2 separate regions of the Homo sapiens genome follow, and region 2 is linked to region 1. Evidence: promoter capture Hi-C in 16 types of primary human blood cells and fetal thymus (Javierre and others, 2016). All regions are on one chromosome and are shown on one strand. Each heading gives the region's core, a stretch centred on a gene start or on the middle of the fragment in contact. The rest is flanking DNA. Distances are from core to core; before and after follow the strand shown. Region 1 holds the start of SGMS1 (sphingomyelin synthase 1). Region 2 overlaps IPMK (inositol polyphosphate multikinase).

Region 1 (4,404 bases), core at 1,505-4,004:
TGATGGCTATACTTAGGAGTCAGGAGTCCGTTTGGTTTTCATGACGTATGTTAACAAAGCACACCATTTCTCTAGCTGAAATGTAGGATCTGCCCCAAGTTTGAAAATTAATAAATTTAACCAGAAAAGTAAAAGAATCAAGTTTTCAAGCTAAAATTGAATGTTTATGGTCAACCCAGCAATCATGTCTTACGAAAACATAAATATTCTTTAAATGTCAATGTGCAAAGGTATTGATGCATATATTTTACTCTAACCATATTAATACAGACTTAAAAATAGATGATGAACATGGTAAATACTGGTAAACTCTTCTGTTATGAAGAATTTTTAAAATTTCAGCTGCAGAGGCATGTATTGAATACAAGTTAGACACTGTGCAAGATGCTAGAAATCTTCCAATGAGTAAGATACTGGTTTAATAACCGTGTCCCTCTGATGTCAATTTAATACATCTCTGGAGTTAATGTCTTTTATTAAAAAGTTTCCGGAAATTTCAAATAGCTCACTATCATCACTGAAGAGTTGCAGAAATGTATCTTATTATTTTACTAAAAACATAAATTTCTATTCTGTGAAGCAGAAATGGAAGGAAAGGCCACTTCACTGTTTTTACATATCACTGTCACTTTCTGCAGAGTAACTACTTAAAACTGCATGGCGGCAGCAGCCACCCCACTGCTACCCAGCAGGTCACAGAGATGCAGAGACTCAAAAACATGCTATATATTGCTGTATATTTTAAGAGGCGCAGTAAGGAAACTCGAAATACCAGGGCCTCCAGAGCTAAACAGGAAGCAAGATAAGACAAGTGAGCTGCCACAGGCAGAAGGCAGCACCTGGAGGTTCCCCCAAAGCTGGCGCCTCCGACAGCAGGCACAGGCTGCTGCTTGCTTGCTTGCTTGCTTCTTTGCTTGGCCACGGCATGTCTTCAGAGCTGGAAGGCTGCCACCTGCTGAATCACCAAACATCCCTGGGCTTCCCTTGGAGCACTGACCAGACAGGCACCCATCCCCCGCAGCCTTCGCCCGTGGACGTTTCACACCCCGACCAATGAAACGCCCCGCCCTCTCCCCTTCTGCACAGGCCAAAACAGCCGCCAACCCCTTTCCATCTGGGCAGCTCTAGGCAACACCCATCGCGTTCCTACGTCACCAGTCCCACTCCTCTCCTTCGGCCCACTCAGTCCCCCCTGAATGTTTCAACCCCCAGTGCCAGGAAGCGTGGGGAGTTCACAGCACAGCACATCAGACATTCGCCACTTCCACATCCAGGGAGCCAACTAGAAACATCCCCAAACCTAAAAGCAAAATAACCTGTCCAAACAGCTTTAAAGGTCCAGGAAGATAAATGTCAAGGGAGCTAAAATAGTCGACAGGCCCCAGAACATAGAAAATAAACTTCCCTTTCAGAAAGCAGCCTTCACTTGGTTTCGTAAGCGTGTACCGCTGAAGTCTGTACTGTTTGAAGGTGAAAAGAAACATCTGAGAAGCACCTGCCTGGATTCTCTTCGCTCCCTCCGGCCATGACAACCCTTATCCCGATTTCTACTTCGCGGCACCAAAGAGGAAAGCAGCATTCACCAGAACGCTCCAGGCTGAATCCGTTAGCTGGACTAGGGCACTCTATCCGGCCCACGGGAGGACGCCACAAGCCCGAGTTCGGGTTAAGACGGTGGGAGAGGCAGCCGCTGCTGCTGCTGTTTTGCCCTTGACACGTCGCTGGGGGATAGCGCAGACCCCCTCTGTCACGGAAAAGCGGCGTCCTGGAGAGACTGTCCAGTTCTGGGCTGCGCCGATTCCCCTCCAGGCCTTGCCCCTAAACGTCCCCGCCCCGCGGGGGCAGCCCTGCGGGGTCTCAGAGCCGCCCGCGAGCCTGGCGGGCTGTTACGCGGCCTGGAGAGAAGGGGAGCGCTCCTCGGGGAGGGGGGGTCCCACCTGTTTTGTCGTCAGGGGGCATCGAGGGGCTACGGTGGGGGGATCCCGAAATAGTGGGCGCCTGGCCGGCTGCGATCTGGACCGAAGGTACCAACTGTCACACCGCCACCTAGGCTGTGGGGGTGGAGCCGTGATTGGAGTCGGCCCCTGGGTGGGGGTCTCCGGACCCCGGGCGGGCTACTGCCCAAAGGCTCCCCGCCTCCCGATCGCCCCAATCCGACACCAGGCAGCCTTCCAGCCCGCACGCAGTAGCTCTGAAAAGGTGCCCACTGACGCCTCCTCCTTCCTCCCCGCCCCAACTTAGCCGGGGAGCCCCGCCGGCGGCCCGCCCCCTCCGAGCCCGGATCCCGGCCGCCGGACCTCCCCGCTGTGACCACCCACGGGAGCAGCAGCTCTGGAGGACTGCCCGCCAGGTACGCGCGCGGCACCGCGCGGGCTGCGCTCACGCCCCCTCGCCCCAGAGCAGCCCGCCCGCTGCTCCCCGGCATAAGGCCGGGCCCGCGAGACAGGTGTCCGATCGGCCCCCGCAACCGTGAGGCCGGCTGTCTGTCCCTGCCCCACGACTCACTTGCACTGGAGTCACGGCAGCCGCCGGAATTCCGCTCGCGGAGCCCCCGCCGCGGAATGAAATCCGGGGCAGGGCAGCGTCGGGGCTCCGCACCCCAATCGCGCTCTCCGACCGGCTCCCTAGGCGCGAGGGGAGAGCAGTCAGCCCAGGCCGGTCCTTCTCACTCCCGACCTGCCCGCCGCCTGCCGCCCGCAGCCGCTGCCCCGCTGGTGCGAACGCTTTCGACTTGCCACCGCGAGCCTCCCGGGCTGCCGAGCATGCCCAGTCCGCTGCCCGAGCCGGCCCGGCTTCCCGCGCGACGCGACTCCGCTCCTCCGGGTGTTCACTGCGGCCGGGGGGGCGGGCCGGCCGGGCGGGGTCCGCGGGGGGCTCCTCCCGGGACCGAGCGGGACCCCGAACCAAGGGACAGTCGCAGTTTGGGCCCCTTGAATTTTACTTTCAAGTAATGGGAAACTGAGGAGGCGGGCGCTTTCCCCAGCGTTTTTAGGGGCCCACTAAGTAAGGCCTAGCGGGAGCCAGATTTTACAATCTGGGACGGTAAATCCCTTGGGGCAGGGCCGGAGACGGGAGCCGCTAGAGCTGGTCACAAAGCAGGGAACGCAAACTCAGCCTGCTGGAAGCCAGGCACGAGTTTGCGAACTACTACTGGATTCTTTTTCCCACCAAGCCCAAGGGCTGCGACACTTGGGATTAATGCCCAATGGATCATTCCTAGGAAACGGCCGACCTGACTATTCGGCCCATTTTCAAACCTCTAACCATAGACTCTCATCTTTCTCCCACAACAGAAAAAAAAAGCCTCTGGCGACGCCTGGGAGCGCGACGGAGGCGCAAGAGCTCTAACCGCGCGAGGTGAAAACTCCGACTGCGTCAGAGCCGCCCCGCCCCGCCTGGGGCCCACCTTCCGCCGCCCCTCCGAGCTGCGGCGAAAACCCGGAGAGCGGCTAGGCCGGGGTCGGAGCCCGCGCATGCCCAGTAGCCCCACGTGGTGCAAGTCGCCTGAAGGAAGGTTTTCCTCTGCTCCCCGAGCGAAGCCCCAGCGCCCAAGTTAGGATGGACAGCGGGGAGAGCTGGCCTTCCCGCCCCGATGCCCGCCGTCCCTGGCCGGCCCGCGCCGCACCTCGGTGGCCTACAGGCAGCCCGAGGCCGTGCCTCCCGCGGGGTCGGGGACTTGGCGAGCGGGGGAAGGGGCGCGGCTACGGGCCCGGCGTACCACGTGACTGTCCGCGGCGCTCCGGGCAGCCATCTTCCGCCCGGCCATCGGGCCGCGGGCGCTCGGAACCGACCTGGGAGCTGGCGGGACCGTCCTCCCCCGCCACGCCCTCCCATCGGGCTTTGGGCGCCGGACTCTGGCCACCGCTCGGCACCTGCCTCCGCCTCGCCTTGGGGTATAGGAGTCCTGTACCGACCCCTGGCTTGCCCAGAGGACAGGTTCTCGCCCGGGCCAGAAGCAAACTGCGGCGAAATCGAGACAACAGAACTCAGGTGGCGGAGGGTCCCCGCTTTTCCCCAGAGGCGGAAGTTGGCGAGGGAGTCCTCTTCCGTTATCCAGCGAGAGCGCTGCTCTGGCTGCCTCCCGGTTCTAACCTAGTCCCTGCAGAGGAGTGATGTACCGGCAGGGACATTGGACAGAGGCCGTGCTCTTCCCTGCAGCGCATACCCCGCGGCCCCTGCTGGTGGGCCGCTTCGATGGTGCTGAGGTTCATAGTGAATATTTATTGAGCGCCTGCCTCGAGTCCCTTGGGTTTCCTGTTGTCTCGGGACCTGCCGCGTCACTATCACCCTAGAATTTGTTAGAAATGCACGTTTTCGGCCCCACCTAGACCTACAGAACCAGAAACTGCGGGTGGAGTCCTGCAATATGATTAACAAAGCCCTCCGGGTAGTTGTCATGGACGC
Region 2 (4,376 bases), core at 1,866-4,365, 7.6 Mb after region 1:
AATCCAGATAGCTGCATGACTGTAAAGTGTCTCCTCACATATAGCTTATTAAATGTAGAACAGAAAACATTAACTATATACTGAAGCCAGGCATGGTGACTCATTCCTGTAATCCTAGCACTTTGGGAGGCTGAAGCAGAAGGATCACTTGAAGCCAGTAGTTCAAGACCAGCCTGGGCAACAAAGCCAGATCCCATCTCTACAAAAAATTTTAAAATTAGCCTGGCCCAGCAGTGGTTCATGCCTGTAATCCCAGCACTTTGGCAGGCAGAGGTGGGTGGATCACCTGAGGCCAGGAGCTCAAGACCAGCCTGGCCAACATGGCAAAACCCCGTCTCTACTAAAAATACAAAAATTAGCCAGGCATGGTGGTGCACTCCTGTAATCCTAGCTACTTAAGAGGCTGAGGCACGAGAATCACTTGAACCTGGGAGGCGGAGGTTGCAGTGAGTCAAGACCGCGCCACTGTTCTCCAGCCTGGGCAACAGAGCAAGACTCCGTTAAAAAAAAAAAAAATTAGCCTGGCCTAGTGGTGTGCACCTATACTCCCGGCTACTCAGGAGGCTGAGGCAGGAGGATTGCTTGAGCCCTGAAGTTTGAGGCTGCAGTGAACTACATCACGCCACTGCACTCCAGCCTAGGTGACACAGCAAGAGCCTGTCTCAAAAAACAAACAAACAAAACGATATACTGAAGAAGCCAGACTACACTTGAATCAGACAACCAGAAATAATCCACTACCAAAGGGCAGCTATTGTTGGCCTCCACTTACACAATGTTCCAGCTGGAAAAGTATCATCTGAATCCCATCGTAAGGAACTATCAGAAACCCAAATTAAAGAACATTTCATAAAATAACTGGCCTGTACTCTTCAAAATGACAATGTCATAAAGGACAGGGAAAGGCTGAGGATATGTTACAAATGAAAGGACACTAAAAGACATAACAACTAATTGCAATAAATGATTCTGGACCAGATCCTGTACTGAGAAAAACAAATGTGATAAAAGACATTACAGTATTGGAACAGTTGACAAAGTGAGACTATGGACTATAGATTAAAGTATTATATCCCTGTTAAATTTCCCATAGTTGATCAATGTGCTGTGGCTACAGAAGAGAATATCCTTGTTCTTAAGGAAGACACACTTTAGTATTAACATGTAAAGTGGCATAATGTATGCAACCTACTTGCAAATAGTTAAGAAAAATTATTTGCATTGAGAGATAATAAAACAAATTTTGCAAAATGTTACTTTTCTATTGTTCTTGCAACTTTTCTGTAGGCTTGAAATTATTTTAGGTTAATTAGTTTCAGAGGATATCTAATAAAAAGAGACTACTAAGCCAAGATAATTGTAGGTCTTTCTCCCCCACAACAATTATCAGTTTAAATCCTTGTTTTCCCTATAGACTACCCCATTTCTACATCCTACATCAGATCAAGAAATATCAGATTTCCATCATTTGTTTAAAACTTTAAGGACTTTTTAAAGAACTTAATGATACATATTAAAAGAATTTTATGCTAACTTTGGTGAGTTTTGGGAATTTATATTGATCTTTTTTTTGCGAAAACTTCCTACAGAGATAGGTACACAACGTGCAAGGTATGCTATTATATACAAGAATGTTTAATAAGTACATTACTTATCACAGCAAACAAATGGTGAAAAGTCTAAAAATCTATGATTACAGAAATAGTTAAATAAATTGTGATACATCCACATTGTAGAACACAATTTTTAGAAAGAATAAAGTATACCGTAAGTGCAAAAATATAGGTATAATACATGATATAATACAGAATGAGAAAAGTTGCTGATAGATTTATTTGTATAAAAAAACAGAACCGCGCTAATGTGTTTATGTATGTGCCCAGAAACAAAGGCCTGAAAGGATAGACAGGAAGTAGTTACCAGTGATTGCCCCTGGGAGAATGAGTAGGGGGAAGGGCACTACTTAAACTGAATTTTTTTCCTAAAAGATCCGTGTACTATACAATTTTTACAGTTTAAAAAACAAAATACTTTGTATTCTTAGAACTAAGATTTAAATGTATTTTGATGAAATATGGTTTCAGTGAAGAACACAAAATATAACGGATGTCTGAACTACTAATATATGCTTGTTACTTAGCATATATAACAAGATCTATTTTTCTGTTCAAGCACCTTTGTTCTATCAAGTTCCATGAGTTTAATTTTTAAACTAACAAAGCCAACAACTCCTTTTTGGAAATAGGTAAAATAATTCTAAATGGAACATTTCTGGTTACTTACTGATAGTAACACAAATTTAAAAACAAAACAAATACCAACATAACGTCCTTAACAAAGCTTATCCTGAGAATTATTTCAATTGACAGACCAAAGCATGATCTAAATGATGTAAACTGTACATGACTTATGACAGTGGAGAAACATAATAAAACTGTTGAACTTTGAATTAGTGACCATCTTATCCATTTTACAAATAGGGAATATATCATCAGTCAAGTATCCTTTTACTTAACAATACAGTCAGGATTGTATAACTATCTGAGAATTAAATTCAACAAATATTAGGTTGCTAGCACAGTATGTTTAAGCCATTCTACTATGGTGACACAAACACTGTCCCTACTCAAAAGACCCTTATGAAATTGCAAAAAAAGTTTATTTTACACTGAATGCCATAATAAAATTAAGGACTACTACCTCTAGAATCTAAACTTTTCCATTAATTAGGCAATTTGGGTGACAAATTAACTTTTCAGCCACTATTTGCAATCACTCTGAATGGGATCACTATTACATACTGTAATAAGCAGTGGTTACACTCTTAAGTGACAATTATTTAGATTGTTTTTATGTTGAGATTTTTAAAATCTATTCTCCTTTGCATATAAGTCAATCTCTAGGGACCTTTAGGGAAACATTTACTTTTTCAGGCATCTAGAATATTATTAGGAATAGTAAAATCACAATGTATTAATATAAATCAATAGGCATTCCTCTATTAACAGAAACCCCATGAGTACTCTCAAATTCTCATTACAAGACACTGGCACACAGGAGGAAATGTCTATGCTGAGCAACTTGAGGACGTTGTTTCTTTACCTCGGTATACTAAAACAACTGTCAATTTTCACTATTCAATATTTCCTGAGTGTTACTGATTCCCAGTCCGTGCACAAGGCTATGAGAGAATACAGATTCTCTCTCTAACATCTAGGAATTCACAATTCAGTGGGGAGAAAGGCACACAAACAAAGTAGGTAAAAATAAAAGTAGTGGAAAATGTCGCTTTGAGAAATAGCATATACTCAAATTAATACTTATCCATTTTCTAAAAGCCTTGAGTTGTTTCAGCAAACACAATACATGGTGAAAAAATACAGTACTCAAAGGAAGAACTCTTGGTTTCACAATTCTTAACATATTGTAACGTGACTTCAGGCACGTCATTCTTAACCAGGGTTGGCCTTAGTCACCTCGTCTAAAAATGTCAGTATTAGCAACCTAAACCCGAATCGTTTTACCGGCATAAACTAAATTGTCTCTAGTGGCTCTTCCGGGTCAAAGATCCACAATACTCACATACTCATCCATCAGATTACCCCAGTAATCATGGCCCAGGGAACCACTACGGGTAAACTAGATGAATTAGAGTTCCTAAACTGAGATAGGCTTTAAACTTGTGAACTCAGAAAATGTATTACAGTGGCCATGATACAGCCTTATAAAATGAACAAGAATAGCTGAACATTTTGTGTATCATTCTGGTACAATATGCGTGTGAATTTCCCACCAGGAATCCGAGTTTCTGCACTACTGGAACCACGCCTCCCAGAGAAATCAAGGAGACACCAGAAAAACCTCCTCAAGGGACAGGGAAAAATCACGGACAAGCTTTCTTCCCTTCTCACCTCCCCCTAAAAAAGCCCAGTGTTTTTCTTCCCCTCCAGCTATGCAGCTGCACCCAGCAGAGAAGTACTAGATTAGCATCATCTGCATTTCATTCCTTTTCTTTTGCAATAGCTACTCGCCTATAATAAACAGACCTTGTGCTCAAGGGAGAATTTACTTCCCCGTCCAGTAAAAATGAAGTTCCTTATTTTCACTAACAACGCCGTCTCCAATCAACACCCAACCTCCCTGGGGGGTGGGTGAGACCAGACACGCCTCTCCCTGCCACCCGTGCTGCAAGCCTGACGACCCACACCCTAGGAATTGTCCCACTTTCCGAGCCCCTTCTGCTCGAGTGGCGAGGCTTCGGGGGACAGCGGAAGAGGCCAGGGATTTGGCGTGCACACCAGGGGGGCGTCCAGGCAGGCCCGAGAGCGCTAGGCTGCCTCCGCTGACAGGGGGCTCGCACAGGCGGAAGGGGAGCG

Evidence for each region. Contacts are between HindIII fragments. The CHiCAGO score rates a contact against its expected background, and 5 or more counts as called.
Region 2: a contact is called between a fragment that was not itself captured here and the fragment with the promoter of SGMS1 in region 1, in 1 of 17 cell types (naive CD8 T cells). The highest score is 5.3, in naive CD8 T cells.

Annotation. Positions count from the first base shown.
Region 1 is chr10:50,621,202-50,625,605 of GRCh38, forward strand. It overlaps SGMS1 (sphingomyelin synthase 1), which reads right to left and starts at 2,755. Exons shown (of 11, transcript NM_147156.4): 1 at 2,506-2,755. It overlaps SGMS1-AS1 (SGMS1 antisense RNA 1), which reads left to right and starts at 3,750. Exons shown (of 4, transcript NR_126411.1): 1 at 3,750-3,990. RefSeq lists enhancers at 803-962, 1,513-1,912, 2,624-3,152 and silencers at 2,103-2,442, 2,703-2,962, 3,011-3,168, 3,293-3,922. The HindIII fragment of the contact is 12,791 bases long and covers 1-4,404 here.
Region 2 is chr10:58,263,020-58,267,395 of GRCh38, forward strand. All of the region lies in intron 1 of IPMK (inositol polyphosphate multikinase), which reads right to left. Among named protein-coding and RNA genes, the nearest start is that of IPMK, 2.7 kb to the right of the region's middle. RefSeq lists enhancers at 4,046-4,155, 4,110-4,376. The HindIII fragment of the contact is 1,554 bases long and covers 2,339-3,892 here.